Regions from separate parts of the Homo sapiens genome. Here regions 1, 3, 4, 5, 6 and 7 are each linked to region 2. The links are contacts of gene promoters, found by promoter capture Hi-C in blood cells and fetal thymus (Javierre and others, 2016). All regions are on one chromosome and are shown on one strand. Each heading gives the region's core, a stretch centred on a gene start or on the middle of the fragment in contact. The rest is flanking DNA. Distances are from core to core; before and after follow the strand shown. Region 1 has its middle 110 kb from the start of LINC02991. Region 2 holds the start of HDAC4 (histone deacetylase 4). Region 3 has its middle 120 kb from the start of LINC02991. Region 4 has its middle 130 kb from the start of MIR4786. Region 5 overlaps HDAC4 (histone deacetylase 4). Region 6 has its middle 150 kb from the start of LINC02991. Region 7 overlaps HDAC4 (histone deacetylase 4).

Region 1 (3,923 bases), core at 1,080-3,579, 280 kb after region 2:
TCTACTTCAGTCTTCTATATCTCTTTACTTTCCACTTCTAAAAATCCTTTTAATATCTTCTTTATTTCTTTTGGAGAATTCTTAAGACAGATCTTTGTGCTTACTAATCTCTGGCTAAATTCATTCTGATATTTAGCCCATATATATGTGTGTGTGTCACACATACCATATACATACACACACACACACACACACACACACACACGGGCTAAATGTATGTGTGTGGGTGTGTGTGTATGCATGTGTGTGTATAGATTTTTTAAATCATTTTTATATATAATTTCTTATTCTTTTTTTTAAATCTTCCCAGTACCCCCTGCCTTATTTCTTAGAGGAAATTAAACAGGCTTATTTTAAACTCTTGTTCCATCTGTTCTATTTATTCTGCTTCATCTGGTATGAATTTCTCTTCTTGTTGTCTTTCTCTATATAGCAGTTGTATTCTTAAGAAGTCTCATTACTTTTACTGAGCTAATACACCCTTCTGAGATATTATCTATCTGTGCTGGAAGTGGATATTTGAGGGGAGGGGATGAAACCCATGTAGACAATTTCTCTGCTTCTGAGGATTTTTTGAGATGGAGGGAGGATGCATCCTCTGGTGAAGAGCATCTGGTATTACACATTACATCTCTCCCTTGGCACCGGTCTCACTTAAGCAACTCTCTCCTGAGCATGATTACCTAATCCTGGAGCTGTGAAGGGGGTACAGGGATAAAGGAATACTCTGTGGCTGGAAAGCCTGGATGAATGTGTTTTGAATTATCCTTCATCCAATTTGTGCGTAGTAGAATCTTTAATTTATCCTCCCAACCAGCTACCACTGGGATGGCTGCTCCCTCCTCACACAGGGTAAATGGGGCTTCCTTGAGCTTCTTAAATCAGTAGATTGAAGTCTGTCATCAGTTTTGGAAAATCTCAGCCATAGTCTCCTCAAATATTAACTCTGGTGTATTCTCCTTGTCTTCTTCTTCTGTGACTCCAGATAGAAGTGTGTTGGTCCACTTGCCCACCGTTTACATGTCTGCTCTTGCTAGTCTTTTCTTTCTCTCTGAGCTTTGGTCTTTCTGTTCGCTTGGCTGATCTACTGTGCCCCATCTGCTATGAAGTTTATTTAATGAGTTTTCAATTTCAGATATTCTATTTTTTACTCAGAATGTCTATTTGATTCTTTTTACAGATTCCAAAACTTTTTTTTTTTTTGGGAAATTCTCCATCTTTTCAGCCGCTTAGTGCATCTCTCCCCTCTTGGCTTTGATGCCTTTATAATTGATAATTTTAAGTCCTTGTGTGCTAATTTCTGTATCTGGATTATTTACAGATCTGCTTCTATTGACAGCTTTTTATCAATCATTAGTCATGTTTCCCTAGTTCACATTCATCTAAGTTCTGATTACAGGAAAGTCGTCGTGTATACAAAGATGATGGAAACTAAAGTTGTTGCTACTGTTTCTCTGACAATTTCTGCCTCTCCCTACCCACCTTTTTTTGGAAGATGGGGATTAGGTGCTAATCACCGCAACACAATTCAGGATTGAGCTGATTTGAGTCTGGGGTACAACATGAGAAGCAGTGCACCTGTTTTCCAAGTCTGAAGACTGAAGCCAGACGGTGGGCCTGGCAAGTGGGGCAGTGGGAGATCTCATTCCCTCTCTAGTGCCTCCACCCTTCTTGTACCACTGCAGAAGCCAGCAATAAACCTACAGGAGAAAACAGCTCAGTGTTTTGAGCTCCTCTAGATTCTGATCTCTTAGCCCAGCTCAAATTATTTTAAAAATAGCCACTGACTTATCTTTCCCTCAAAAGAGCCCCTCTGCCTAGGAAAAGCTTAAACCTCAGCCTTTTCCCAGATTCAGAAAATCTCTCCCACCCCCGCCCCCAGGGACAAAATGGTCAGTGATTGCAGCTCAGCTGGGAAGGGCTCTTCCTGCTCTGGAATTTTAATTTGTTTGGTTCTTCTACTTTCACTGCTAATCAATGGTTTTACAACTATAATCTTTATAATTTATCAATTTATTTTTCTAGTTGTGTTCGGAGCAGTGAACTGTTGATATTTACTCTAAACTCCCTAGAAACTGAAACCCTTACAGTGGTTAGGGATAGTAGATGGACCAGTTTTTAACTTCTGCCCAGTGCTGGAAGAAGGATTAAAGACACACCAGGAAAATTCTCCCCACATCCTATCTCTGGAGTCTCTTTTTTTCTACTCTAGGCAATAATTCCTCCCTATACTACCCCATCCCAGAAGCCCAAGTACCCAGAGTTCTCAATGTTTTAAGGGAAGAGGTGGGTTTTTGTTTTTAATGGATCCACTAACTTCCTTCTGTTTTTGTGCATTGCTGAGATTGAGTTTCAGTGCCCAAATCAGTAGTACCCATGTTAATTCGCCATTTGAATTACATCGAAAACCCAACTCTGCCACATACTATCTGTATCACCTTGAGAAAACCACTTCAGGCCTCTCCTTTCCCCAGCTTCAGAGTTGTGTCCGACCTAGTTAATGCCCATTCAAATGGGAAGAAAGTGTAAAAATCACGGGAGCTCTGACTGTTAGGCAGTTATTCATTCTCGCCCTTCACAACCACACGCTGGCTGGCAGGCACTATCTGTATCTCTCTGAGTGTCTGATGCTGTGATCTACCTTTTTGCCAGTCGTTCTCTCTAGTTTGAAGCACAGTCCATGAGGAGTCTTCACTGTCCTCACCACTAGCTCTTGGCTGGCTGCTTTCCTTTCGACCGACCTTTCTTCCTTCTGGATCTTCTCAGGCAGGTCCACTCTCCACCTGTGACTGCCTGAACTGGAGCATAATGCTGGTGAGCAGAGCTCATATGGAAGCTTCCAGAATGACTGTTGTTTGACATCTCATTAACCTCCACTTAATCCTGCCTTCCCTGGAAGCTTGATGAGTCAATGCTGCTGGTGGAATTGCATCAAACCCAAGATGGGTGGGAATTGCATTCCACCCATCAGAAGGAAGATGCAGGGCGGCCTGGTCTTCAAATCCCATGAGCCATTTCTTGCCTAATGGGAATAGGCAGCTCTGAGCTGCAAAACAAAACTGTGCATGGCTCACTCAACTGCTACTTCTCTTCACTTTATTTCTGGCCAGGCATGATGGCACACACCTATAATCCCAGCACTTTGGGAGGCTGAGGCTGGAGGATCACTTGAGCCCAGGAGTTGTAGACTGTCTTGGACCACATGGCTAAATCCTGTCTCTACAAAAATAAAAATAAAAAAATTAGCTGGGCATGGTGCACGTGTGGTCCCAGCTACTCAGGAGGCTGAGGTAGGAGGCTCGCTTGAGCCAGGGAGGCAGAGGTTGCAGTGAGCCATGATCAAGCCACTGCACCCCAGCCTGGGTGACAGAGCAAGACCCTGTCTTGAAAGAAAAAAAGTGTTATTTCACTTTTTCATGGATTCCTTTCCCAGGAAAACCACACATTTCAGCCAATTCTATGAGAAAATGAGTCCCCAGGGCTCAAAAATGGGAAAAAGCTTGCAACCATGACCCTTTAGAAAGAAGACACTGAAATGGTGGAAAATAGCAGTGAAGGCAGTACCGAGGACACCTGGGGGTGGGAGCTGCTGAATTGAATTGATTTTGCCTTAGCTTTTCCTGAAGCCGAAAACTTAATAATCATGTTTATATAATCACTGAACGGAGATATATACATAGATATGTCACTGAAAATGTTCATAGATACATTTTCCCCTTGAATTCTGCATTCAGTTAAATTACCCGTCTGGACTGATCCATCAGGACAGACCCTTGTTAATGCATGGACACAGCACTGCTGAGAAGCCAGGGATGCCGGGGGCAGGGACAGCGCTTGAGGCTCACCTCCTCATGGGGAGAAGTGAAGCCGTGATGGCATCACACCCGACCTACACGCAGGCTGCATTCCCACTTCACCCCTGT
Region 2 (3,844 bases), core at 732-3,231:
AAGGCATGAAAATACTTCCCTCCCACACAAATGTGAGTTCTTCTGGGGAAAGATGCCACAGATCCCAGAGAGTAGAATATCTGGGAAAGCCCGATCAGTCTTAAAAATAGGTAATTGAACACAGATTTTAGAATTCACAAGAGCTACCTGAAAAAAAATTAAATTTCACATATTTTTGATATCCAAAACTCCATTCTGATGAAACTTCTAACTCGGTGGCATTTTGCATTTCCAATTATAATAGAGTAATTGTGTTGCCATAGTTACTGCAAAATTCTGCAATAACTTTTGTTGCTTTGTAACTGCTGTAGTGTATATTTGTGTACAAGCAGCTGAGTTTTCTTAATTCGATCTCCCTCCCTTCCACCCTCCCTCTCCCCAGCCACCACCACCACCTTTCCTGGCTAGGTCCTGAAACCACCACACCAGCCTTCTTTGGACAGTCCCGAAAATAATGCACAGAATTATCAGAAGCAATTAAAACTCCAGGCAACCACGATCATATTACAAAAGAAAAAGTGAAACCAGGTCAAGGTGCAAACCTGCCAGTATCCCCCCAGTCCTGCTGGGCTGGCGCTGGGCCAGGACTGTTTACAGGCTTACTCCCAGGCCTTAACTGCTTCGGTGATTTGTGGGAATAAACAGAAAAGCCTGAACAGAGAAAAACGGGGCGGCAAAGTGACTGCACAGGCCCTTTCCTCCCTCACGGAGAGCAAGCAGAACTGCTCTCAGCAAGCAATTAGGTAGGTCTCTACAGTCATGCAATTAGGATTTAGTGAAGAAAGTCATTAGTTTTAAAATAACTTAAGTTTAATTTCTGCAACGCTTTATTTGAAAACTGTGTCACAGCAGGTCAATTTACAACATGCAATAAAGAAAACACTCATATCAGCTGCCTCAAGTTATTACAAATTTTTGATGTGCATTAAATGAGTACACTGGGTTCCACCCCCGGCCTTTCCAACTGATACGCACGGTCTCCTCCTATAACAGTGTCAAATAATTCAACGCTCAATGTAAATACGAGATAATTTGCTTATGATTCCGTGGTGTGTTTTCGCAACGCCGGCAAACGCGGATCCCACCCCCGAGCGGGACCGGGCCCCGTCTCGGCCTGCTGGCGCCCTGCGGGCTGAGCCGAGCGGGTCCCGGGCAGCCCCCCGCCCTCCCGCGACCCCCCGGGCGCTCGCAGCGGCGACGACAAGCGCGGGGCCGCGGACCCCCGGCAGGGACGTTTTTCTGCAAACTCACAGCATTTGACAAAGTTACATAAACGGCGCCCGGCCGGCCCCGGCGCCCGCCCGCCCCCGCCCTCACTCCCGGCGGCCCGGAGCCCACCTGCTCGGGGGGCGCGGGCCCCGCACCGGGAGACGGCGCCGCTGCCTGCCGTGCCCACCCCCGCGCCCCCGCCCCGGCGGGCGAAGCCGCCTCGCGGCGCGGGTGGAAAGGTCCAGAAGGGGCCGGGCGGCCCTGGGGACCGGCGGGTCCCACGGCGCGCGGCCAGCGCTGGCCCCCGCCTCCCACGGCCGCGCGCGGGGCGGGTGTGGACCGGCGGCGTCCACCTGCCGCGGGCTCCAAGGCCTGCAGGCTGCGCGGGGCGCGGGGCGGGCGGCGGACAATGGCCCGCGGGCGCCGGGCCGGGGCTGCGCTTACCGCGGCGGGCGGCGGCGGCCGGCTCTAGCCCTGCTCCGGCGCTCCGCGCCGCATCTCCTCAGCCTGCGCCGCCACCCGCCGGCGCGCGGGCTCGGGCTCGGGCGGCGACAGCCGGGACGCGGCCACGGCGCCGCCGGGGGCCCAGGCTGGGAGGCTGTTCGGGCGGCGGCGGCGGCGGCGCGGGCGGGTGCGCGGGCTCGGGCTCGGGCTCGGGCGGCGGCGGGGACGGTGCTCCGCGGCGGCGGCCCCACAACCTCCCCTCCTCATTCACAAAAAATTGACCCACGTTGAACCATGATGCTTCTCCCCACTCCAGCGTCGAGCCAGGCGGCGATAGGCCACCCCGCACGCCCGTCAGCCGGCCCGGCCCCGCCCAGCCAGCCGGCGGCTCGCCAACCATTGGCTGCGGCAGCCTTGCGTCACCTCCCCTTGCGGGCCCCGCCCTCCCGCCTGGTTTCTAATGAAGAGCTCGTCAATTACGGCTCGGCCCCGCCTCCCGCCCGCCCGCCCCGGGCGCCTGGCCGGCCTTCCATTGGCCCGCTGAAACCTGCGCACAGCCCGTCTGCTCCCACCCCTCGCCCAGCGGCTGCTCAACCGCGGGGCCGGATGCCCTATGAGCGGCAGAGAGGCTCCACCCCTGCCCGCCTCCCCGCACGCGTCCTGGACCTCATTGGCTGCTGGAGCTGCCAATTCTAGAGGGTGGGGCGTACCAAAAGACGCTCCAGGCGCCAGCCGCTGGGTGCTTCGCGGTTGAGGAGGCGCAGGGACCGGGGGCCAGTAGTGGCCGTAAACACGGGCCCCGGCCGTGTCCGGTCGCACTCGGTAGCCCGCATGGCTGCCTAGCGGTCAGCACCGCATGTCTGCGAGCCTAATTCGCGCTTAGAGGGCACACAATGGGGTGCAGGCTAACGCGGGGAGCCGGCCAGGCCTCGCCGCGGCGTCCATCTTGGATACTGGCAGTGGGTCACGTGGTGCTGCGTGCGCACGGAGGCGCAGGGCGGCCCGGTCACTGAGTGCGCAGGCGCCGTGGGCCTCGCCCTGCCCCGCGGCGGGAACGCGGCCGTGAGGGTGTGGGGTGTAGGTCCGCCAGGCCTGCAACGGCTGCCGAGGGTCGTGGGATGCGCTCGCCGCGTCCCTGCTCAGGCGGAGGGAGCCCGGCCCGCCGCCAGGGTCTCGAGTCCGGGTCCAGGCAGGCGTGGAGGTGGCGGGAACGGCGCACCGCCCGGGTGGGCGTTGTTTTAAGGCCGCAGGGCTTGGGAGGCTTGTGTTGAGTTACAGGTCGGCCCGTAGATCCCCGGAAGCGCCTTTGGTTGCCAGCAGGTGTCGGCGAGGGTCTTCAGTGGCCACCCTCCTGGTGGTGATGTTTCCGTTTCTTTCCAACAGGAGTATGACAACTTTTCAACTTGAGTGCACACACTGTCCCCGGAATCCCGCGTTCCAGGGAGGAAGCGCCTTTGACAGCGCGCGCCGGTTCGTGGGGCCCGACGGCGTGGGCCTGTGGTTGCGGACCTGGCGGAGATGCGCGTTCGCTTCGATTGTAGGCCATTCCTTTTAGGAGCTGAGAAAGGATCCGTTTTTACAGCATTCTCGACCTGTGATTCTTGGTGGGGGAAACTAGTTATGTGGATAAAAATACAGTTAGCAAAATAAAAATGCCAATTTTACATTTCCTTAAATATCTCATTAATAATTAGAAAACTTTGGTCATTGCAAGAAATGCTTAGGCTAAACTTAGAAGGAAAGGAATGGTGAATTAGAGAACTTTAAAACAAGATACAGCTGAAGAAAAGGAGAGCAATTACGGGGTTTTGGAGACTTGGCTGCTGATGGAAACGGTGCACTATCTAATTTTCATGTAGAATGAAACAGGGTCTGTAGCTAGCTAACATCTAGATAAGATTCAGTATCATTTGACAGGATTCTCAAAAACATACAATCACGAGAAAATATTAAAACCTGCCTGTAAGTCTACCAAAGTTAGTTTTTCACGTACAAAGAGAAGTGCCTGCGCAAAAAGTCACGTGAAACGAGCTCTGGGATCTAATGCTTGCAGAGGTAATTTTTAAAAAGTAGATTTCCATTAGAAGGAATGGGTAGCCCCATTGCTGCGTGCCATTTAGTCCTCACAGGAGTCCTGAGAGGCACTCCAGCAGAGTGAGGCACCACGCAGACGTTGGGTGGATGGTGCAAG
Region 3 (4,012 bases), core at 588-3,087, 300 kb after region 2:
TTTTGTACTTTTAGTAAAGACGGGGTTCCACCGTGTTGGCCAGGCTGGTCCCCTGACCTCAGGTGATCCACCCACCTCGGCCTCCCAAAGTGCTGGGATTATAGACATGAGCCATCACACCAGGCCCTATTTTTAATTTTTGAGGAAACTCCACACTGTGTTCCACAATGGCTGTACCATTTTGCGTTCTGAACAGCAACAGTATACGAGGTTTCTGGTTGCTCCACAGCCTCACCGATGGAAACTCCACACTGTGTTCCACAATGGCTGTACCATTTTGCGTTCTGAACAACAACAGTATATGAGGTTTCTGGTTGCTCCACAGCCTCACCGATGCGCGTCTTTTTTTTTTCTTTTTTAGCAGCTGTTCTCACAGGTAGGAGGTTGGTTTTGATTTGCGTTTCCCTGATGATTAGTGACATTGAGCCTCTTCATACCTCTTGGCCATTTGTGTATCTTCTTCAGAGAAATGTCTGTTCAAGCTCTGTGCCTATTTTTTAATTGAGTTGTTGGTGTTTTTGATATTGAGTTGTAGGAGTTTCACACATATTTTGGAAATTCACCTTTTATCAGATCTATGGTTTGGAAATATTTCCTCCCATTCTGTAGGTTGCCTTTTCATCTGTTGCTTGTTAGCTGTGCAGAAGCTTTTACATTTGACGTTCCATTTGTCTACTTTTGCTTTTGTTGCCTGTGCTTTTGGTATATTCATGAAATCATTTCCAAGACTAATGCCAGAAAGCCTTTCCTATATGTTTTTTTCTAGAAGATTTATAGTTTCTGGTCCAAAAGCCCAGAAATAAATCCACAGTATATGGTTGACTGATCTACAAGAGTGCCAAAAATACATATAGGGAAAGAATATTCTCTTGGGAAAACTGGATATGCACATGCAAAATAATAAAATTGGACCCTTATGCTATACACAAAAATTGGTAGTTTCTTGAAGATTTGTTACAATGTAGAGTCTGAATCCTGTTAATGAACGCTTTCATCTCTGTTACATTAAAATGCATAGCCCTATCATTAACTTTGAATGGATCTTTTACTTTGCATGATTTTATAACATCCTATCTTGGTCATTTGGAAAATAATGACTCACTGAGTTATACAGTGTTTTCAAATGTAGACACGTTTCATTATTCAGTATCCAAAAAAATCATATTTGCTAATATCACCACCCATCTCACCAGGGAAGTCTTTAAGTAATGGGAAGCTATGAAGACGTTGGTGGTGAATACATGCTTTCCAAAATTTTAATTTACACTCCAGTTCACATTTTAGCATTGGCAACAAATACTGTCAATGGTTTTCTTTGAAAAGGCTGGTTCACTTCATTTGCTTTCAAGAAATCTGCCAAAGACTGAACTCTGAATAGTTTGTAAGTCATTCTTTCAAGTAAAAACATTATTCCATGAAAAAAGTGGGTAGTGGAGCTCTTAGTTCAGTCACATGGCGCTTTTTCTCAAGAGAACCATTGTTCTTCAGCTTGCAGACGGGCTTTGTGTGTACTTTCTATTTAGTTAGAATATTAAAATGGCATGTGCCTCAAGCATTGAGCTTTAATAACATAAATAATTTTTCTCCTTCACCCAGAACATTCTTAAGTAACACGGAGGTTATGTTCTTTGTCCCTCCCCGTGAGTGCCTGGCAGTGACGCATGCAGTGACTGCTGTGTGGTGTGGCTCCGGCTTTGGTTCCAGGCCCAGCACTGAGGCTGTTTGGTACCATTAATGCGAACGTCAATATAGTGAAGAAAACAGTGGCCTCCTAGCATTATGAAAAGAGTTTCGACCTCAGAGACTTCTGAGAAAGTTTCAGGGACCCCCAGGGGCCTGACCACAGTTTGAAAAATATTGATTTAGCCAAAACATCATAGAATCAGTCTCATGTCTTTATTTCCTTTTTCCTTTTTATCATCTAATTTTTTTAACACAATACAATTTAAAGTAAGTTTACTGACGAATATTTTGCATCAAATGATAGAAGTTAAACATTGGTGATTTTTCACATTAACTGCAGTTTTATGATTTATGTATTTAACTGAACTAAGTTTCCAAAGCATCTGAAATTAACTATAATTTACGCAACTTTTTGGACATCTAAAAATAAAAAATGAATATATATTTAACATCCCTCATCTCAAAATCTAAAATCTGAAATGCTCCAAAATTTGAAACTTTTTTTTTTTTTTTTTGAGATGGAGTCTCGCTCTGTTGCCCAGGCTGGAGTGCAGCGGTGCAATTTTGGCTCATTGCAACCTCTGCCTCCTGGGTTCACGCCATTCTCCTGCCTCAGCCTCCTGAGTAACTGGGACTACAGGCGCCTGCCACCACGCCCGGCTAATTTTTGGTATTTTTAGTAGAGTCAGGTTTTCACTGTGTTAGCCAGGATGGTCTCGATCTCCTGACCTCGTGATCCGCCCACCTCAGCCTCCCAAAGTGCTGGGATTACAGGCGTGAGCCACCGCGCCCAGCCAATTTGAAACTTTTTGAGCACTGACATGACACCACAATTAGAAAATTCTACGCACAAGCACTGAACACGAACTTTGTTTCATACACGAAATTATTAAACATATTGGACAAAATTACCTTCCAACTATCTGTATAAGGTGTCTATAAAGCATAAATAAATTTTGTGTTTAGACTTCAGTCTCATCTCCAAGCTATCTCATTATGTAAAAGAAAAATTTCAAATTCTTAAAAAACCAAAACCCGAAACATTTCTCATCCCAAGCATTTTTGATAAGGGAGGTTCCACCTTTCTTTCATGTGCATGCATGAGCCCAACAAGCAGCCTGGGAAATAAAATGTGGAATCCATGTCTGCAGCCACCCATGTACCGCTCCTGGTCCTATTCCACTTCACACCCCCTGCCAAGAGAGGATCACCATCCTGACTTGGGTGTTTATCCTCACCCTGAGTTTCTAACCACTTTCATTATGAATGCATGTATTCCTCAACAAAATGTAATATTGCTAGGAATAGTTTTATAAAATTCTTCCTGTGCACTTAATGTTTCTCTAAGCTTCTAACATATGCCCAGGAGCAAATTGTTCCTCACCAGGTAGAGGCATCTTCAAATTTACTAGACACTGGCAATTTGTTATACAAAGTAATTACGTCAATCTATATTCCCACCAGCAGTATATAAAAGTTTTGTTTTCTCTACATCCTCTGCAGCACTTAAGTGATGAGACTTAAATTTCTGTTGCTTTTTGTGGGCAGTTTTGGAGTTTTAGTGTAGTTTAATATGGATTTATCTGACCTTTAGTGAGATTGATCATATTTTCAAGTTTATTTACCATTGGAAATTTTCCCTCCATAAATTGCCCTTCTGAATCCTTGAAAATTTTTTCTGTTGTTTATTATTTTGTACTTTTTGTAGGAATTCTTGACATATGTTAGATTTTAACCCTTCAGCCATTTTGCGTGACACAGACATCTTCCATGTGGTGGTGTTTTAGTAAATTTGTTGTGATGTCCTTTCGTGTACAATCTGAACTATAGATACAATCACATTTATCATTTTTGTCCTTTGTGTTGAACCTCTGTTGTGTTAGTACTTCCTTAATAAATCTTTCCCTACTCTGTGGTCACAAAATATTTATTTTTTTGAATAACAGTTTTAAAAATGTACTTTCCACAGTTATGTTTAATCCAGCCACATTTTATCTTTGGGGATTATGCAAGCAGAGATGTAATTTTATTTTTCTTTTCCACATGGATAGCAAACTTCTCAGCATCATTTATTCAATTATTTCCCCACTGACCTGCAATGCTATCCCTATCTTATATCAGGCCTCACATATTTGGAGAACTCTTCCTGAAAAGAATGTGGATTCTGTTGCTGGTGGGTGGGGTGCTTGCTAAGTTCTGTGGGTCAAGTTGTTTGATACTGCTCTCCAACTTCTCTGTATCCTCAATGACTTTTTGTCTACTTCTTCTACCCTTAGGCGAGAGGAACACTGATCTCTCCAATAGTATTAGTAGATTTATTTGATGTTTT
Region 4 (4,335 bases), core at 328-2,827, 420 kb after region 2:
AGAGGGAGGACTGGACGCGTGCATGTTTACATTCTCGAGGGGGGACTGGGACATGTGCATGTTTGCATTCTCGAGGGGGGACTGGGACATGCATGTTTACATTCTCGAGGGGGAACTGGGATGCGTGCATGTTTACATTCTCGAGAGGGAACTGGGACGTGTGCATGTTTACATTCTCGAGGGGGGACTGGGACATGCATGTTTACATTCTCGAGAGGGAACTGGGACGTGTGCATGTTTACATTCTCGAGGGAGGAACTGGGATGCGTGCATGTTTGCATTCTCGAGGGGGAACTGGGACACGTGCATGTTTACATTCTCGAGGGGGGACTGGGATGCATTTATGTTTGCATTCTTGAGAGAGAACTGGGACGCATGCATGTTTACATTCTCGAGGGAGGAACTGGGACATGTGCATGTTTGCATTTTTGAGGGAGGAACTGGGACGCATGCATGTTTGCATTCTCGAGGGAGGAACTGGGACGCGTGCATGTTTGCATTCTCGAGGGAGGAACTGGGACGCGTGCATGTTTGCATTCTCGAGGGAGGAACTGGGACGCGTGCATGTTTGCATTCTCGAGGGAGGAACTGGGACGCGTGCATGTTTGCATTCTCGAGGGAGGAACTGGGACGCGTGCATGTTTGCATTCTCGAGGGAGGAACTGGGACGCGTGCATGTTTGCATTCTCGAGGGAGGACTGGGATGCATTTATGTTTGCATTCTTGAGAGAGAACTGGGACGTGTGCATGTTTACATTCTTGTGGGGGGACTGAGACATGTGCATGTTTGCATTCTCGAGGCACCTAGTGCATGAGACTTGTCTTGCCTGAGGCCTGGGAGGACTACCGAGACCACCTCTGAGGAAGTGCTTCATGATGAAATGGAGATGCACACATGTCATGCACCATTAATATTAGCAGCAAAACTCGGGCTACCCCCACAGAGAGAGATTGCATATCCTAGCAGCAATGTGACAGATGATAAGCAGACAGAGATGCTGCACCCAACATCCCTTAGAGGTGATAAGGCCTCCATTTGCCACATTAAACAACTTGTCACATTGAACTGAAGACACCAAGAGGGCCGGCTTCAGGGACATGAGAACGGGCACGATCAGAACCTTCCGCAGGAGTCCAGGCAACTTTCCCAGGGCCTGCCTCTGTGCCCACTGATGCCAGGACCACACACGGGCTCTCTGCACTCCCATGGCTTCTCCCCGGTTTCTGAAGGTCCCTTGGTGACCAGCACCACTGACCAACGAGGATATCTAATCTACTAAAGCCGTGTGTTCAGGAGCCCTGCCGTCCCACTAATGTGGATATGATGCGATTGGTGACTGGCTTAAGCTTTTATGCTAGGTAAAGAGGTGGGTGAGGCCAGACATTGAGAAGGGTCAGCCCTGTCCTGGGGAGTGGAGAGGCCCAAGGGGGCCTTGGATCTCCAGAGCTGTCTCACAGCAAGCCCCAGATCTGGCTGGTGAGAAGTGGAGTCAGTGCACTCAGGGGTGTCTGCCATCCACATCGCCAGCATGGGGTCCAGGCCATGTGGGACTCGTCATCCCAGGGACATCTAAGCCCCCGTGGCTGGTCACCACCAGCTGGTGCCCGAGGTGGCTGAGCTGATGGACTCAGGATCAGAGAGCTTCATAGGCTTGTCCTGGTCTTTTTCTTCCCCTTTGTGGTATTTTTCTCATCACTAGGTAGGTACTATGCTGCATTTCCTGTTCTAAACCCTTGAGTGGGGTGTTTCCTCATCCTGACCACTGTACTAGATGCCAACCAGCCCAGGTCCCTCTTAAGGGAAACTCCAAGCTTCTGCCCACGGTTCTGTCCCTGCCCTCCTGGGATCCCAGCCCTGGCTATTAGCCTGGACCTCATCTGATCATTCACCGGCATGCTGACCTGAGCCCCATCTGATCACTGTCTGGCATGCTGACCTGGGCCCCATCTGATCACTGTCCGGCATGCTGACCTGAGCCCCATCTGATCACTGTCCGGCATGCTGACCTGGGCCCCATCTGATCACTGTCCGGCATGCTGACCTGGGCCCCATCTGATCACTGTCCGGCATGCTGACCTGAGCCCCATCTGATCACTGTCTGGCATGCTGACCTGAGCCCCATCTGATCACTGTCCGGCATGCTGACCTGGGCCCCATCTGATCACTGTCCGGCATGCTGACCTGAGCCCCATCTGATCACTGTCCGGCATGCTGACCTGAGCCCCATCTGATCACTGTCCGGCATGCTGACCTGAGCCCCATCTGATCACTGTCTGGCATGCTGATCTGGGCCCCATCTGATGACTGTCTGGCATGCTGACCTGAGCCCCATCTGATCATTGGCCAGCACGCTAACCTGGGCCCCATCTGATCATTGACTGGCACGCTGACCTGGACCTCATCTATCATTCACCAGCACACTGACCTGAACCCTAAATCCCTCGGGCCCTTGACCTCTCATCACATCCCTCCTGCCAGGACCCAGCCCAGAGAGCATCTGGCCATCTGATTTCTCTTTTACTCCTGGTTGGCTAAATGAAGCTAATGAAAAAGTCACATAAATGGCACCAAAGCAAAAGCATGATGTCCAGCCTTGCTGGCCCCTCCTAGCCCGAGGCCCCAGCCCTGTCCGCTCAGGGGTGCTCTGGCCTGCTGCAGCGAACATGAAAACATGGAACCTGCCTAAGGGGTGAAAGCTCCTTCTCTTCCCTTCCCGTCCTGTCCCGCCTCAGACCAAGCACCGGCCTCTGCCTCCTGTATCCAGGGCCTTTCTCTACCCACCCGGCATCTGCTGCCCACTGTTGGGTCTTGGCCTCCCTCCTACAGCTTCCCCCAGCCCTCAGGCACCTTCACAACCATCCAGGGCAGCTGGGCTCCTCGCAGGATGCCCACACTGCCCATCCAGGGCAGGCAAGCTGGGCCCCCCATGGGAAGAGCAGGGAGCTCCTGGCTTTGCCCTGGATCCTGGGAAGTGTTGCTACGATCATGGCCCACACAAAGCTCCATTGTTCCCCCAAACAGTAGCAATCAGAGTTCAGGCCAAGTTGGACGTGTAACAGAGGGCACCCATGCTGCAGAGATCTCCATAGATCCTTTCTCCGTTCCCCACCAAGCCACACTCTCGCTGTCCCTCCAACCCCACCAGTTCCTCCTCCCCATCCTTGATTCCCTTCAGGACTAACCCTGGGGGTTCTGCCCGGCTGGGCTCCTCCCCTGTGGCAGGAACCCCAGGCTCAGTCTAGGGGAGCTGCCCCTTCTCAGAGGTGGAGGCTTTTCTGGCACGTCACTCAGCGGATGCATCTGTGGGAAGGGCCAGTCCTTTGCCTCCGCCACCTTGAGACGTGGCCCTGGCTCCTCTGGAGATGACGATTCAATCAGAAAAAGTACTTCAGCTCCAGTAAGGTGCTGGGATCGGCTCAGGGGGCCCCATGGGTCCTCAAATCCCAGCGAGGGCATGCTCTGCAAGCTGATGACACACCCTGCACTGACCACAGTATCCGGCACATGGTATAAGTCATGAACCCTGGCCAAGGAGGCATCAAACAGCACAGAACACGGTGAGCAGTCAGTGCTTCCTTCCAGCACCTCCAGGAAGGACAGCCCAGGCCTCCAGAAACGTGTGTGCGGCCTTGAGATGGGAGAGCACTGAGGGGACCTCGGGGGAGGCCCGGCAGAGGACACAGCTGCCTGCAGGAAGGCCTTAAAGCTCAGAAGGTCACCCGAGAGGGGCTGTGACTTTCCCATAAGGGAACAAGTGTCCAGCGGGGTGGGTGATGCTGTCACCTCCCAGTCACAGCTCTCCAGGACATTCCAGAATTGACAACCAGTGCACCCTACAGTCTGTATCCAGCAGACATCAGCCCACCCCTGCCCAGGGCCATCGGCTGCCATAAATGGGGCCTCTGTCTTGAATATGTGGGTTCCTGGGTCACCCAGCATTGTGTAAGGAAGGTGTCTCTCAAGATGAGGAGTGGAGGGGGCACAGCTGCTTCTGTGGCTGGACTCTGGTCTTGCACACCAAGGCTCTGTTTCTTCATCTGCAAACAAGGACAATTTGCCCTGAGCCCCTTCCATGTTGGCTGGTGAAGCCACCGCCCAGGTCTGGTGGGAGTCCCCAGGGAGGGAGTGGTCCTTCAGCAGTGCCAGGCAGGGGTGCCCAGGGTCTGCAGGGGCAAAGGGGTGGAATTCAGAGTCCAAGAGACAGATGTGCTTGGAGGAGAGGGGGCCGTCTTCCAGGAACCTGGAGGGAAAGGAGGAGAGGCTCTGTCTGGGGACAGTGGCCGAGTGTCAGAGCCTCTTTTTGAACCTCAGAAACAGGTTGTTTAAAGAACTTC
Region 5 (4,084 bases), core at 154-2,653, 330 kb before region 2:
CAACCTAATGGGCAGCAGGACTGAGGGGGGCCGCAGGACTGAGGGGGCCGCAGGACTGAGGGGGGCAGCAGGACTGAGGGGAGCAGCAGGACTGAGGGGGGCAGCAGGACTGAGTGGGGAAGCAGGACTGAGGGGGCCACAGGACTGAGGGGGGCCGCAGGACTGAGGGGGCCGCCCTCTGCTTTCAACTGTCCACATCATCCCAAGGAGACTCGCTTCTAATTATTTTAATAAAGTTCTTGTCATAAAACCTTTTTCTTTGGACAGAAAAACACATTTCCAGCCATGCTTTTGGTGTGGATTTTAAAGCCAAGACCTTTTTCAATGAGAACCACAGGCGTTTTGTGTGGACGCTGTGTCCTTGGCGAGGCACTCTGACTGCTGCTTTGCAGCGAGCGCACGTGGAGGCTTTACTTCCCCACTTTGAAGTGCTGCTGAGCTATTTTACTTCTAATCCCCCTCCAAAAAGAAGTCCTGTGAAAATCGCCGTTAAATGAAGTTCATACCAAGAGAGTCTCTGCTGTCTAGGCTTGGTGTGTGGTGTTGCCTCAAAGCCAGTCAAAACAAAATGGGAAAGATGAGCCCAGGCTCGTGGGCACTGGCACGTCGGCCACACGTGAGGCTGCGTGGGGCACAGTCGGATGCACGTGCCCACACACTCATTTTCATTTTACTGGGCTCAACACCCTCTAGGTTGTGATCCCAAACACCTGCTAGACATAAGAAGGTCAGAACGTGAGGTGCATGAGTGCACCTTCAGCACCCGTTTGTGGCGCGACTAAGAAACGTCCCTTCTCCTCCATGGGACATGACTTCTTTGCCTGTAAAAAGGAAGCTGAGCATGGCACTCCCTGTGTCTTCAGGACTGTGCTTACCCTCCACGACTTTCCTACAAGAGGAAGCTGAAGGAATGTCCCTGTTTAATAGATGCTGCAAAAAATGGGAAACTGGACTCACATTTTATTCCCAGAATTAAACTTTTAATAAAGAACTCAGTCTCGGCCGGGCACGGTGGCTCACACATGTAATCCCAGCACTTTGGGAGGCCGAGGCAGGCGGATCATGAGGTCAGGAGATCGAGACCATCCTGGCTAACACGGTGAAACCCGGTCTCTACTAAAAAATACAAAAAGTTAGCTGGGCGTGGTGGCGGGTGCCTGTAGTCCCAGCTACTCAGGAAGCTGAGGCAGGAGAATGGCATGAACCTGGGAGGAGGAGCTTGCAGTGAGCCGAGATCGCGCCACTGCACTCCAGCCTGGGCGACAGAATGAGACTCCGTCTCAAAAAAAAAAAAAAAAAAAAAAAAAAAAAGAACTCAGTCTCTAAAAAAATAAGATTGAGATGTTTGCCGTGGGCCTCTCAAGCCATCACTTTAAGGAGAGTATTTCCATGAGGTCACTTTTGGCCTTTCTTGGGGCAACCTGAGGGGAGAGAGGGGTGGGCTCGCAGTTTCCCAAGGCAGTAGGCCCACTGATCGTCCACTGATCGTCAGCTCAAGAGGCAGGAGAAATGGGTGGAAAGAGGGGATCTTTAGAGAAGGTGGACAAATGCCTGTAAGGTGCACCCCTGGGGCCGGCAAGCCCAGGGAAGCCATGACTGTGGTGCCCAGAGGGTGCCTGTGCCCGTGAGGCACGTACAGAGGGAAACGTGGTGCTAAGGGGAGAGAGCGGCTTCTCCTCGCGGTGGCCTCTGCATTTAGGGAGGTCCCGTGTGAAGCCGTGGGGTGCCACGCATCCCCTTCCCGTGGCCTCAATGTGGCTTCTCTGGCACCTTCGTTACCGACACAGCACTGCACCCTTCACTCGGTCATCAGCCAACCTGCACCTGCAGCCTGAAGACGACATCTCCCCTCAGCTTCCCAGGGAATAGAGCTGGGCTGGGACAGCAGACAGGTGCCAGCCACTCCCCTTGGTTTCCCGGGAAACAAAGCTGGGCCGGGATAGCAGGTGGGTGCTGGCCACTTTCCTCGGCTTCCCAGGGAGACAGAGCTGGGTTGGGACAGCAGGCGGGTGCCAGCCACTCCCCTCAGCTTCCTGGGAAACAGAGCTGGGCTGGGATAGCAGTAGCAGGCGCGTGCCAGCGAACTCTCCTTGGCTTCCTGGGAGACAAAGCTGGGCCAGGATAGCAGTAGCAGGCGGGTGCCAGCCACTCCCCTCAGCTTCCGGGGAAACAAAGCTGGGCCGGGATAGCAGTAGCAGGCGGGTGCCGGGCCACTCTCCTGGGCTTCCCAGGGGAACAGAGCTGGGTTGGGTTGGAACAGCAGGCGGGTGTTGGCCACGCCCCTCGGCTTCCCAGGGGGAACAGAGCTGGACCGGGACAGCAGGCAGGGTGCCGGCCACTCTGCTTCCTCGAAAGGCCATCGCTCGTGCAGCCTCCCAGCTGTGCTCTGCGCAAGGGGCTGTGTCACGGGGCACGTCTAGCTCTAAACCACCACATACCATCAAATTATGGCCTGTACATACCATCCTCAAAAGCCACAACTGCATCTAAATGCAATAATTCACTTAACAGCTGGGTTTCAACATCTGGAAAGAAATGACCTTCCAGTTCATTCCCCTAGTAGGACCCTAAACAAAACTCACCACACCTTCCGTCAACACAAGCCTCAGAGCAAACCGAGCTTATGGGGCCAAGAGGCTGCAGTCCTGTGGCCACCCACAGCCGGCAAGCCTCTGGGGACTCCGTGGGAACTGGGCTCAGGGCTGGCACGCCATGCTTGAGTTTCTGGCTGCCGTTCTGCCCCAATAAATGCCCTGGGGCATCGTCCACACAAACTGGCTCCTCACTGGCTCTCCCTACTAAGGGGCCTCCAGGTGGAGATGCTCCCAACCACCCACTTGGATGGACACTTTCTCACTTTTTCCTGAAAACAGACTGAAGCAAAAGCGTCCCCACTGAACCCTCATCCACCCCCACCTGAACCTTCTCCCGCTGGATCTCTGCCCAGCACCCTTCAGCCTCCTCTAAGCCAGCACCTCGAGACCTCACCAAGTGCCCTCTCCCCCAAAATCAGCCCCTACTCCCCTCAATCCCATCTCACTTCAACCTCTTTGAGATGGCCCCACCTCACCAGCCTGTGGCCCTGTCCCAATCTCTGCCGCTGTTTTCTGGGCTTGTCCACTGGCCCCCAGATCCTACCCTGGAATGCTCTTTGCCAGGTCCAAGTCTGTCACCTAAGCTGCCACAAGACGGGCCTGTCCAACATGCAGAGCTGGCCGTGATGCTTCTTCATTCCACAGTCAGAGGCCCCGATAGAGCCCCTGCCATCAGGGCCAAGGTCTGGCTCTGTGGATGCAGCCCAGGTGAGCGGGTTTGCACCATCGGGCTCTGTTCCTTCGGGACGGCCCTTCTCCCATAATGTCCCGTGCCAGGCTCGTTCTTCCAGGACTCAGCTGGGGGCTTGCCTCCTCCAGAAACTTCCTTGGCCCCACCAAGTGGGCAGGTCCCCTGAGGTCTTACCGGGCCTGCCTAGAGCTTGTCCTCCCAGTCCCCCGCTATCCTCCAGGGCAGGCACTGTGCCGGCTCCACTGTTCGCTTCTTACAGGGCCGGCCCCACAGGCGAGCGAAGGCTGGCGCAGGACGAGCTCTCTCAGCTCTGAGGCTGTAGCTTATATGCTTTTGCTTCTTTTTGCTTCTCAGATAAATTTCTACATAGGAAAATACTTGGATGCACTTAAAGAGACATAATTGCTTTTAGAAAAGAAGGTGGCACGGTCTGTATGAAAACTTCATAACCCTGACTTCCTCAGGCAAGAAACCCAGGGACCAGCGTGGTGTGTGCAGCGGGTGCCACTCAGCAATGGTGAAAACAGCAGACATCAGGCGCTGCGACTCCTAAAACACACCTGTCTACAAAAGGCAGCAACAGCAGCAACACAGCAACACAGCTTACGGAAGGAACGAACATTCAAGAGCCTCAGCCTTCCCGTCTTACTTGAAAGTTTGGGGAAAGTGAAATAGCTTTGCCCAGTTGCTCAATTTCAAGGCTAATGCCAATTCGTGAAGCTATCACAGTTATTGCTTGAGAAGATCCAGTTTCAGAGACATCTTTGATAAACTTCGTAATATCACAGTGGAATCTAAG
Region 6 (4,021 bases), core at 1,096-3,595, 330 kb after region 2:
GGCTGATGAGGCTGACCTGAAAGACAGGGCCTGGCTCTCAATCTGTGGGAAGAGGTCCAGCCTCTGAACCTGCAGGATTGAGCCCTTGGGTGTCGAGGCCTTGCTATGGTCAAGCATGTGATGAACATGCCCAGAGTAGCAGGGGTGGCAGGCCCCAGGGTACAGCTGCTGGTGTTCAGGCATAGCGGGTGGCCAAGGCCTGCCTTGCCCTGTGGGGATCCCACGGCCTCTGATGGTCAGCACTCCCTGTGCAGCAAGCAGCTGGCCCACACCAGCCCTCCTCTGTCAGCCCCTTGGCTGGCCGGCCTGGCCTCCCCATCCTGCAGTGAGAAGGTGGAGGCCGCGTGGCCCCAGGTGTGCGCCAAGGCTGAGATTCCCAGTCCTCTCTGCCTCCCCGTGCATCCAGGGCTGGAGCCATGATGCAGGCTGAACCCCGAGGGAAGTGCCCACCCCGTCTGGCTCAGTGCCCTCTGCAGTTCGTGAGGGCTCAGGACATTGTCTGACCATGGTGCTTGTTTTACCAGGCACAGGTCTGAGATAGACAGCAGAGGAGCACACACGGCCGGAGGGCATAAGCCAGCAAGGAAGTTTTCTTGCTTCATTTTACCCGGGCCTAACGAGCCGTCTGCCACTCACGAACAAAAGCCCAGGGTTCCCAGACAGGCTCGCACCTGCTGGGAGGGCCAGGCCCTGTGCAGGGCAGAGTGCTTCTGTGCCGAGCCCTGAGGGGCCCACTGTGCTTCTGGAGGGGAGGTTATGGGGAGCCAGCACCCGACAGGCCATCCTCATCCTCTGGCTGCCTGAGCCCCTGGCCAGGGCACCCACTTCTCACAGAGAGCAACCTCCACCCGGGTGCAGCATCAGGTGGGTGTCGGGTGAGTGAGGAGAGAGTGCAGCCGGGCCAGAGCGGCAGAGTCCTGTCTGCCATGTGGGTCACCAGGTGACAGGGTCCTGCTAGCACCTGCGTGTATGTGGTCCAGCCGTTTATCTCGGGTGAGCTCACCTCCACCCACACCCTCACCCCTGGGCTCCTTGCACCTGCCCTTTCTTGTTGTTCAGTGGCTGCCTCAGTGATGGGCCGCTGGTGCTTCCCGGGCACCTCGCAGATGTCCATTCATCTGACCCCTAGGACAACCCACACTCTCATTACCCAGTTCTACAAATAGGCAGCTGGGGCTCAGAGCAGCCGAGGCCCTCCCCACCTCAGGCTGCTCACCTGTGGAACAGGCTCACAGCACTGGCCTCAGAGGGCCACTCAGAGCAATGGCAAGCAGGAGCACTCCACAGCCTTGCGGGCAGCACTGCAGCTCCACGTCTGCCTGAGCATCCTGGCGTCTGGGATTAAAAGGGCTGAAGAGCCTGCCTGTTTGAGACTCCTCCCCGAGATGCCCCCACCCTGTGATTTTCAAGGGCAATGAGTGGAGGGGCACCTTGGCTTTGCAGGACGCCCAGCTGGGCACAAACGCAAAGGAGCCAGGTGTCCAGTGGGCCTCCCGTCTTCCTGGCTGCTTCGCAGAAGGGAGCCAACAGGCAGTGACTGCTTTAGCATCCAACTCTGCCCTGGGCCTTTGAGTTCAGCACCAGCAAGTCCAGCTCTCCTCCTCCTCGCGGCGTAGCTCTGGCGGCGCTCCATCAATGCTGGTGGAAAGAGTCCCAGGAGGATGACTGGGGCTGAGGTCGGCCATCACGGGCCTGCTCCCTGTGCACAGGCAGGGACAGTTGTCCGAGAGGCGCTGGGCTGTCTCTGCCGAGCCCCGGCCCCAGCACGCGCTCTCCCGGCTGGAACTGTTACTACGCAGGAGGGGAACATGCGTGTGTGTGGAGGGGGACCTGTGAGCGGAGGATGTAGAGAGACAGCTGAGAACTGTGAGACAGCGCCAGTCCCCAAGGCCCCAGTGGCTGTGTGGAGGTCAGAGGTGCTGCCGTGTGGTCCCGTCTCATGGAGACAGTGGCCGTGCTCCTGACCCCAGGCCAGTGCCTGCAGCCCCTTCCTTCCTTGCCTGCCTGATCACACAAGCATTAGCAAGATGATTCTGCTCCTGTCTTGAAAAGTGTTCTTTCAGCACGGACCTCCGTCTGTTACGTTCAGAAACGACATGACTCTCATCACCCATGAAACGACGGGGCTCTCATCACCCATGAAACGACGTGGCTCTCATCACCCATGAAACGATGGGACTCTCATCACCCATGAAACGCGATCATTACTGGGCAGTTTTCTCCCCTCTCCAGCACAGACCCAGCCACGGGCCAGGAGGTTGATCAGGCTCAGAGGTTTGATCTAATCTCACAGGGGCAGTCTGGGGCTGGCGTTCAGGTGCCATCGGGCATGGGGCTGAGGTGTGAAGCAGCTTGTGAATTCACTGGCTGAAACCAGTTCTGCCCAGACCTTCTCACCAGATCAAGACCTTCCTGCGATTTTCATTTTGTCACACTCAGCATCAGTTTTTCAAACTCTTGGGTCCTTAATGTTCCTAATGCCCTGCCTGACAACTGCCTGACACCTGCCCATGGAACGTTCCCTTATGTTGAGAAAAAGGTCGGAGAACCGCCAACGCGGCCGGGAGACCAGGCCAGGTGGGTCGGGCCCCTGGAGCTCTGGGTGGGCTCAGCCTCCTGCAGGACCTGGGGCCTGCTGTGGGTGGGGGAAGCTCCAGCCAGCTCCGAGGGTCCCCTGGGGGCTGCGGGGTCTAACCTGAGGGCGGGGCTGTCTGAATCCCAGGGGAAGCCTGTCGGGATCCCAGGGCACCTTCGGTCCTTCGTACGTGGGGAAACCTGGCCTCTCACAAGCGCTTCCCCTGCTGCTAGGACCTGAGGAGCACCGGGTGGGGCAGAGGGAGGCGGGGTGGGGCCACCTCCTTTCCAGTCCTACCTTTGAGCTGTGTGACTTTGAACAGCAGCTCAGCCCTTTGGGACAGTCCTGCTCGTGGGGTGGGGTTGAAGGAGATCAGGCCAGTGGGTATTTGGAGACACACCCTGTCCCAGGGCCTTCTGGCAGAGAGGTTGGTGAGGCCGTGGGCAGGGAGGTGCTACCTGAGGAGGAGGACGGGTCCAACTCCTAGCCCCAAAGCCTCAGGCAGGCACTGCCACAGGTGAGCATAGGCCCTGCCAGGCTGGTCAGCTCTGAGCCATGTGCCAGAGGCCAGGGCAGCCCTCGGGGTGGCAAGGGAAAGGGGTTCTCAGCTGGGGTGCCCTGGCTCAGGGGTTCCACCCTGACCCGCTGACACTCCGCTTCCCGGGGTCCTTGGGGATGAGAACTTCCCTGCCTGGGATCATTGCTGCTGGCGTTGGAAGGGACCGTGTCATTAAAGCTCTTTCTTGATCCCTGGGTGAGGTAGAAAGAAATCTGGGGGCCTGGGGCGAGGCTGGATTTACAGGGTGGTGTGCCGGGCTCACTCTGGAGCTTCCTCCAGTGGTGCAGGAAGCCGAGGTGCAGGAGGCAGGCTTGGAGGGCTGCTGGTGTGGATGGGACCCCAAGCTGATGGAGAAGGTGGGTGGTTAGCCCTGACTGCGGCTCTCCAAACAGACTGAGACCAGCCCCAGCCCCTTCAGCCCTCTACCCTGGACATCACATGGGCTTCCTGCTTCTCCATTTCCCCAGCATCAAATGGAGGCCGTGAGTTTACCCAGTGGGCTTCAGAGGCGTCCACGGGAAGAAAGCTGTGACCACCACTGGAGGAAGCAGCACTGCAGCCACGACCGTGTGCTCCTCACAGGCTCTGCACCTTCTCCAACTGCTGTGTGACCTTGGGGAGTTCCCCTGACGTCTCTGTGCGGTACTGCAGCCACGACCGTGTGCTCCTCACAGGCTCTGCACCTTCTCCAACTGCTGTGTGACCTTGGGGAGTTCCCCTGACCTCTCTGTGCGGTACTGCAGCCACGACCGTGTGCTCCTCACAGGCTCTGCACCTTCTCCAACTGCTGTGTGACCTTGGGGAGTTCCCCTGAACTTGACCTCTCTGTGCGGTACTGCAGCCACGACTGTGTGCTCCTCATGGGGCTCTGCACCTTCTCCAACCGC
Region 7 (4,244 bases), core at 115-2,614, 310 kb before region 2:
AATGCAAATATTCCAAAATCTGAAAAACACCAAACTCTGAAATACTTCTGGCCCCAAGCATTTCGGATAAGGGATAGTCGACCTGTCAAATAATTAGCAGCAAAATGAAATGTAAGGGGAATCACGACCAGTCTCTTCCAATAGTGACTTTCTCCTGTGCCGAGTTTAACTGGAAGCTCCACATGTTGACCAGCGTAGCTAAGCGGGACTGGCCGTGTGGGCGGGTGAGGAGAGCTGCCCTGCTCTGCCCTAGTGACGGTACACGGCTCTGCCTGGACACCAGCAAGTCAGCCCGCTGGCCTTTTCCACTTCAGACAGAAAACGTGTTTCACACAAACACGTCAACAATCCCCGATTGTGTGTTGGCTCATTTATTTATTTAGGCACACCAGAAATTTCTTACAGCCCTGGCTCAATTCAGGAGGAAAGTCGACAGACAGAGACCTGGACAGCCAGTTCTGCACAGAGCAGTCTCCTATGGGAGTCTGGCCAGGGGAGGGAGGTGTTAAGATGAAATACACAGCCCTTGGGCTGGCCCCAGGGAACCTGAGCATCTGTCCCCAAGTGTGTCCCTTGCCTGCAAGCTGCTGTGGGGTAACACACCGGGGACTTGGGGGTGCCCAGCCCGGTGGAGGTCTTAGAAGCCGTGTCATAGGTTGCTCAGCTTCCACACGGTGCTGACCAGGGCGATTGCAGGTCCATTGCAGGACGCCTCCTTCTCAAACTGAGCCCCTCTGAGCGCCGAGTGCTTTGGGGCTCCTAAGCAGGAGCCAGGCGTGTCCACCCTGCCTCTCCCTTCCCCAGACCAGGCCCTCGAGGGCTCCTGTCCACCACCAGGCAGACTTGCCACTTGATAGACACCGCTCATTATGTGGGGAGGGAGGATTTCTTTCCAGGCGGTCTTGAAGCTTCATCATCAAAGCAAGGTGAGTTAAAATGCATTTTCAAGGGGCTGAAGACATTTCCTGAAGTGTATTCGGTGATGGTTTTCTTTTCAAAAAATTAGCCAGATGTGGGCCGGGCGCAGTGGCTCATGCCTGTAATCCCAGCACTTTGGGAGGCTGAGGTGGGCGGATCACAAGGTCAGGAGATCGAGACCATCCTGGCTAACACGGTGAAACCCCGTCTCTACTAAAAATACAAAAAAAAAAAAAAAAATTAGCCAGGTGCCGTGGTGGGCGCCTGTAGTCCCAGCTACACGGGAGGCTAGGGCAGGAGAATGGCGTGAACCCGGGAGGCGGAGCTTGCAGTGAGCCGAGATCGCGCCACTGCACTCCAGCCTGGGCGACAGAGCCAGACTCCGTCTCAAAAACAAACAAACAAAAATTAGCCAGATGTGGTGGCCTGGGCCTGTAGTCCCCACAACTCAGGACGCTGAGGCGGGAAGATCACTTGAGCCCAGGAGGTCGAGGCTGCAGTTAGCCATGAATGCACCGCTGCACTCCAGTCTGGGTAACAGACTGAAGCTCTGTCTCCAAAGAGGAAAAAAAAAAAAAAAAAAATCCAAGGTGACATCGCAGGAGTGAGAGCTGGGCAGGGCAAGATTCTGCCACCTGCTCTGTGTCAGCCAGCAGAGGCGGGGTCCCAGACAGGCCAGGCCCCGAGGCTGCCCCTGTGGGGACAGCACCCAGAGATGGTTTCTCTCCAACATACAATGAACTAGGCTTTGGGATTAGGCCAACACTGCAGGGAGCGGAGGGTGTACTACACCCGTGTTCTGAAGGGTCTTCTGGGGATTCTGCACACCTGGGGTGCCAAGGAGCTGCTCGGTCTACCAGGTGCCTGTGTCTGTGCCCCCTCCCATGGGACCCTGGGGTTCAGAAGCTTCTGGAGTCTTGCACAGAGTGAAGGACAAAGCCCCAGCCAAACTGCAGGACCCCAGTCCCCAGAGAACTCAAGAGACCCTCCTTCGCCTGCTTCAGGACCACGGCTCCAGCTCCCAGGGACCAGCCTGGAGCTCCAGGCCTCTTGCAGGGAGCCTGGCTCAGGCGTGCAGCGCCACCACTGAGCAATAGCCTGGCTCAGGGCAGGCGGCCGCAACTGCTAATGCAGGAAGGAGCAAATGGCTCACTCTGTGTTTCGTTTCTTTTTTTTTTTGTTTTCTTTTCCTTTCTTTCTCTCTCTCTCGCTTCTCTCCTCTCCTTTTCTCTCTCTTTCGCAATAAAGACAGGAAAAAGGCGGGGGGAAACATGGAGAAAGCTTCCCACGGATAATCCCATGGAGTCTAAAAGGGACATGCCGAGGGCTGGCAGGGCTGGGAGGCCTTTGGGAAGCTCAGAGGAGCCGCGGGGAGCCGGGCGTACGAGAGCAGGCCAGGACTCCGCTGGGCGAGGCCGAGCAGGGACACCAGCTCCTCACCCAGTTGAAACTTGCGGTCACTGGAGAGGAGCAACGCAGGAGCTGATCTGGTTTGAAAAAGAGGTCAAAGCACTTTACAGCTCCCATTTCCCAGCGCCGAGGAGTGGTGAGTTTTCCGTGTTCCAAGCCCCACTGTTCTGCCTCCGGGAGAGTTTGCAGCTGCTTTCGGGGAAGGTGGCTGGCTCTGCTCACCTGCTCTGCCCTCCCTGACAAGAGCACCTGCTGTGTGCCCACACTTCGGCTCCCGAGGTCTACTTTGCTCCTCCTGACACCCCAGGAGGCTGGCCCCTCCTGGCTCTGGAGGAGACATGAGGCTCAGGAGAGCTGCATCTGTGCCAGCGACAGCAGGTGCATCCCACACCAGGGCAGGGGTCTGCACCGGCCTCCTGTCTGTCTTCTTCCTTTTGGAAAACAATGGGAAGAAAACACATCCTGCCGGTGGCTGTACCTCAGGAAGCCCCACGGCCTGCACTGTTCCCTGCCCATGCCAACAGGCTACCCTCTCTGCCCGCGTCCACGTGGGGAGCTTTTCCATCAGCATCTGCACACCCAGACGTGAGGGTGCAGCTCTCATCTGCTGTGCCTCAGATCTGGATTTAACACTTGGGAGGGGCTGCTGGGCTCACCCCCTCAGCTCTGAGTCTGCACTTAGCTTTCATTTGCAAATGATAAATTCTGCCTTGCACAGGCGTGCTGGCTGCAGGGCAGTGCAAATTCAATCCTTTTCAAGTCTGGCCAAAAACATGCCCCAAATTAAGAGATTGCAGCCTATTTACAATACAAAATAAAATAACTCTAGGAGGGCTTGGTGGTGGTATGAATAAATGCCGTTTATTCTCTTTCTGACGGGATAATTTTCAAAGCAGTGATTTTTATAAAAACTCAGGAAGAAAACAATTTTGTTTCATTTCCATAACAGAATCCAGACCTTGAGCTTCACCCTGCGATCAGTGATTACACACACACTGCACCGTTTCGGCTGCAGCGGCTCCTGCTGTCCACCGGCTCCCGTCCTCCCTGCCTGTAACCGTCTGTGGTGATTCGCGGCACTGCAGGACCATGATGGCCCGGATCTGCTCGGACGCTCCGCCTCAGCTTCTCATGGCCGCCCTCGCTATTGCCACCCCTGCCCAGGCTGCATCAAGGAGGTCAGGGGCCAGGGGAGAACTCTTTTGTTATTGAGAAGTTTGATTGCAAGACCTGACCCTTCCTGTGTGGACGGATGGGCAGATGCCCAGACTGGAAAGTCCTTGTGAACTTATGCGCCCAGGCCAGGTCCATATCATCAGCTCGTAGAAGCCAGCACAGCCCAGTGATTCATATGCCCAGGCCAGGTCCATATCATCAGTTCGTAGAAGCTGGCACAGACCAGTGATTCATATGCCCAGGCCAGGTCCATATCATCAGCTCACAGAAGCCAGCACAGCCCAGCGAGTAGCCCTACAGACTCCACGTGGCCCATGAGTATCACGGTCACTGCACTGGGAGCCCCACCTGTAGCTTCGGGTGGAAACTAGGTACAGAATACAGAAGCACGCATCCTACCCGCACCATACTCGTGGCCTGATGTGAGCAGATTACTGCCACAGACTTCGAAGGGGATGAGATGCTGGCTGCATACAGGATCCTGTTTCTTAAAGCGAGAGCCACTGCACCCCAGAGCCCCAGCCACCTGCGCCAGACAACCTTCCCCAGAGAAAGGTGCCCGAGTCGGCGATCAAAACGCTCTCGGCTCACACGGCCTTTGAAGCCGCACATGGGCAGCCCCTGCGTATGGAAAACACCTGGCAGCAATTATTCACTTTGAGGGAAGCAAGGCTGCGATTTCTGTGACCACTGGGACTCGAGAAGAAACAGGACATTATTTACACATTAAAGGAACACTT

The links. Contacts are between HindIII fragments. The CHiCAGO score rates a contact against its expected background, and 5 or more counts as called.
Region 1: a contact is called between a fragment that was not itself captured here and the fragment with the promoter of HDAC4 in region 2, in 2 of 17 cell types (M1 macrophages and M0 macrophages). The highest score is 6.8, in M1 macrophages.
Region 3: a fragment that was not itself captured here is called in contact with the fragment with the promoter of HDAC4 in region 2 in 1 of 17 cell types (M0 macrophages); the score reaches 6.0 in M0 macrophages.
Region 4: a contact is called between a fragment that was not itself captured here and the fragment with the promoter of HDAC4 in region 2, in 2 of 17 cell types (M0 macrophages and M1 macrophages). The highest score is 5.8, in M0 macrophages.
Region 5: a contact is called between a fragment that was not itself captured here and the fragment with the promoter of HDAC4 in region 2, in 3 of 17 cell types (naive CD4 T cells, naive CD8 T cells and total CD8 T cells). The highest score is 6.7, in naive CD4 T cells.
Region 6: a fragment that was not itself captured here is called in contact with the fragment with the promoter of HDAC4 in region 2 in 3 of 17 cell types (M0 macrophages, M2 macrophages and neutrophils); the score reaches 6.0 in M0 macrophages.
Region 7: a fragment that was not itself captured here is called in contact with the fragment with the promoter of HDAC4 in region 2 in 1 of 17 cell types (non-activated CD4 T cells); the score reaches 6.1 in non-activated CD4 T cells.

The regions. Positions count from the first base shown.
Region 1 is chr2:239,681,715-239,685,637 of GRCh38, forward strand. No RefSeq gene overlaps it. Among named protein-coding and RNA genes, the nearest start is that of LINC02991, 110 kb to the left of the region's middle. The HindIII fragment of the contact is 1,009 bases long and covers 1,826-2,834 here.
Region 2 is chr2:239,399,039-239,402,882 of GRCh38, forward strand. HDAC4 (histone deacetylase 4) reads right to left here and starts at 1,982. Exons shown (of 27, transcript NM_001378414.1): 1 at 1,940-1,982. It overlaps HDAC4-AS1 (HDAC4 antisense RNA 1), which reads left to right and starts at 2,398. Exons shown (of 2, transcript NR_135575.1): 1 at 2,398-2,498; 2 at 3,037-3,319. RefSeq lists silencers at 1,631-1,800, 1,811-2,250, 2,271-2,390, 2,661-2,930 and an enhancer at 3,061-3,190. The HindIII fragment of the contact is 12,493 bases long and covers 1-3,844 here.
Region 3 is chr2:239,699,567-239,703,578 of GRCh38, forward strand. No RefSeq gene overlaps it. Among named protein-coding and RNA genes, the nearest start is that of LINC02991, 120 kb to the left of the region's middle. The HindIII fragment of the contact is 2,384 bases long and covers 646-3,029 here.
Region 4 is chr2:239,815,868-239,820,202 of GRCh38, forward strand. No RefSeq gene overlaps it. Among named protein-coding and RNA genes, the nearest start is that of MIR4786, 130 kb to the right of the region's middle. RefSeq lists enhancers at 2,138-2,724, 3,442-3,942. The HindIII fragment of the contact is 465 bases long and covers 1,346-1,810 here.
Region 5 is chr2:239,073,942-239,078,025 of GRCh38, forward strand. All of the region lies in intron 22 of HDAC4 (histone deacetylase 4), which reads right to left. Among named protein-coding and RNA genes, the nearest start is that of MIR4440, 7.1 kb to the left of the region's middle. The HindIII fragment of the contact is 6,470 bases long and covers 1-4,084 here.
Region 6 is chr2:239,726,699-239,730,719 of GRCh38, forward strand. No RefSeq gene overlaps it. Among named protein-coding and RNA genes, the nearest start is that of LINC02991, 150 kb to the left of the region's middle. The HindIII fragment of the contact is 4,915 bases long and covers 1-4,021 here.
Region 7 is chr2:239,090,764-239,095,007 of GRCh38, forward strand. The region is part of intron 17 of HDAC4 (histone deacetylase 4); the gene reads right to left. Among named protein-coding and RNA genes, the nearest start is that of MIR4441, 7.0 kb to the left of the region's middle. The HindIII fragment of the contact is 916 bases long and covers 907-1,822 here.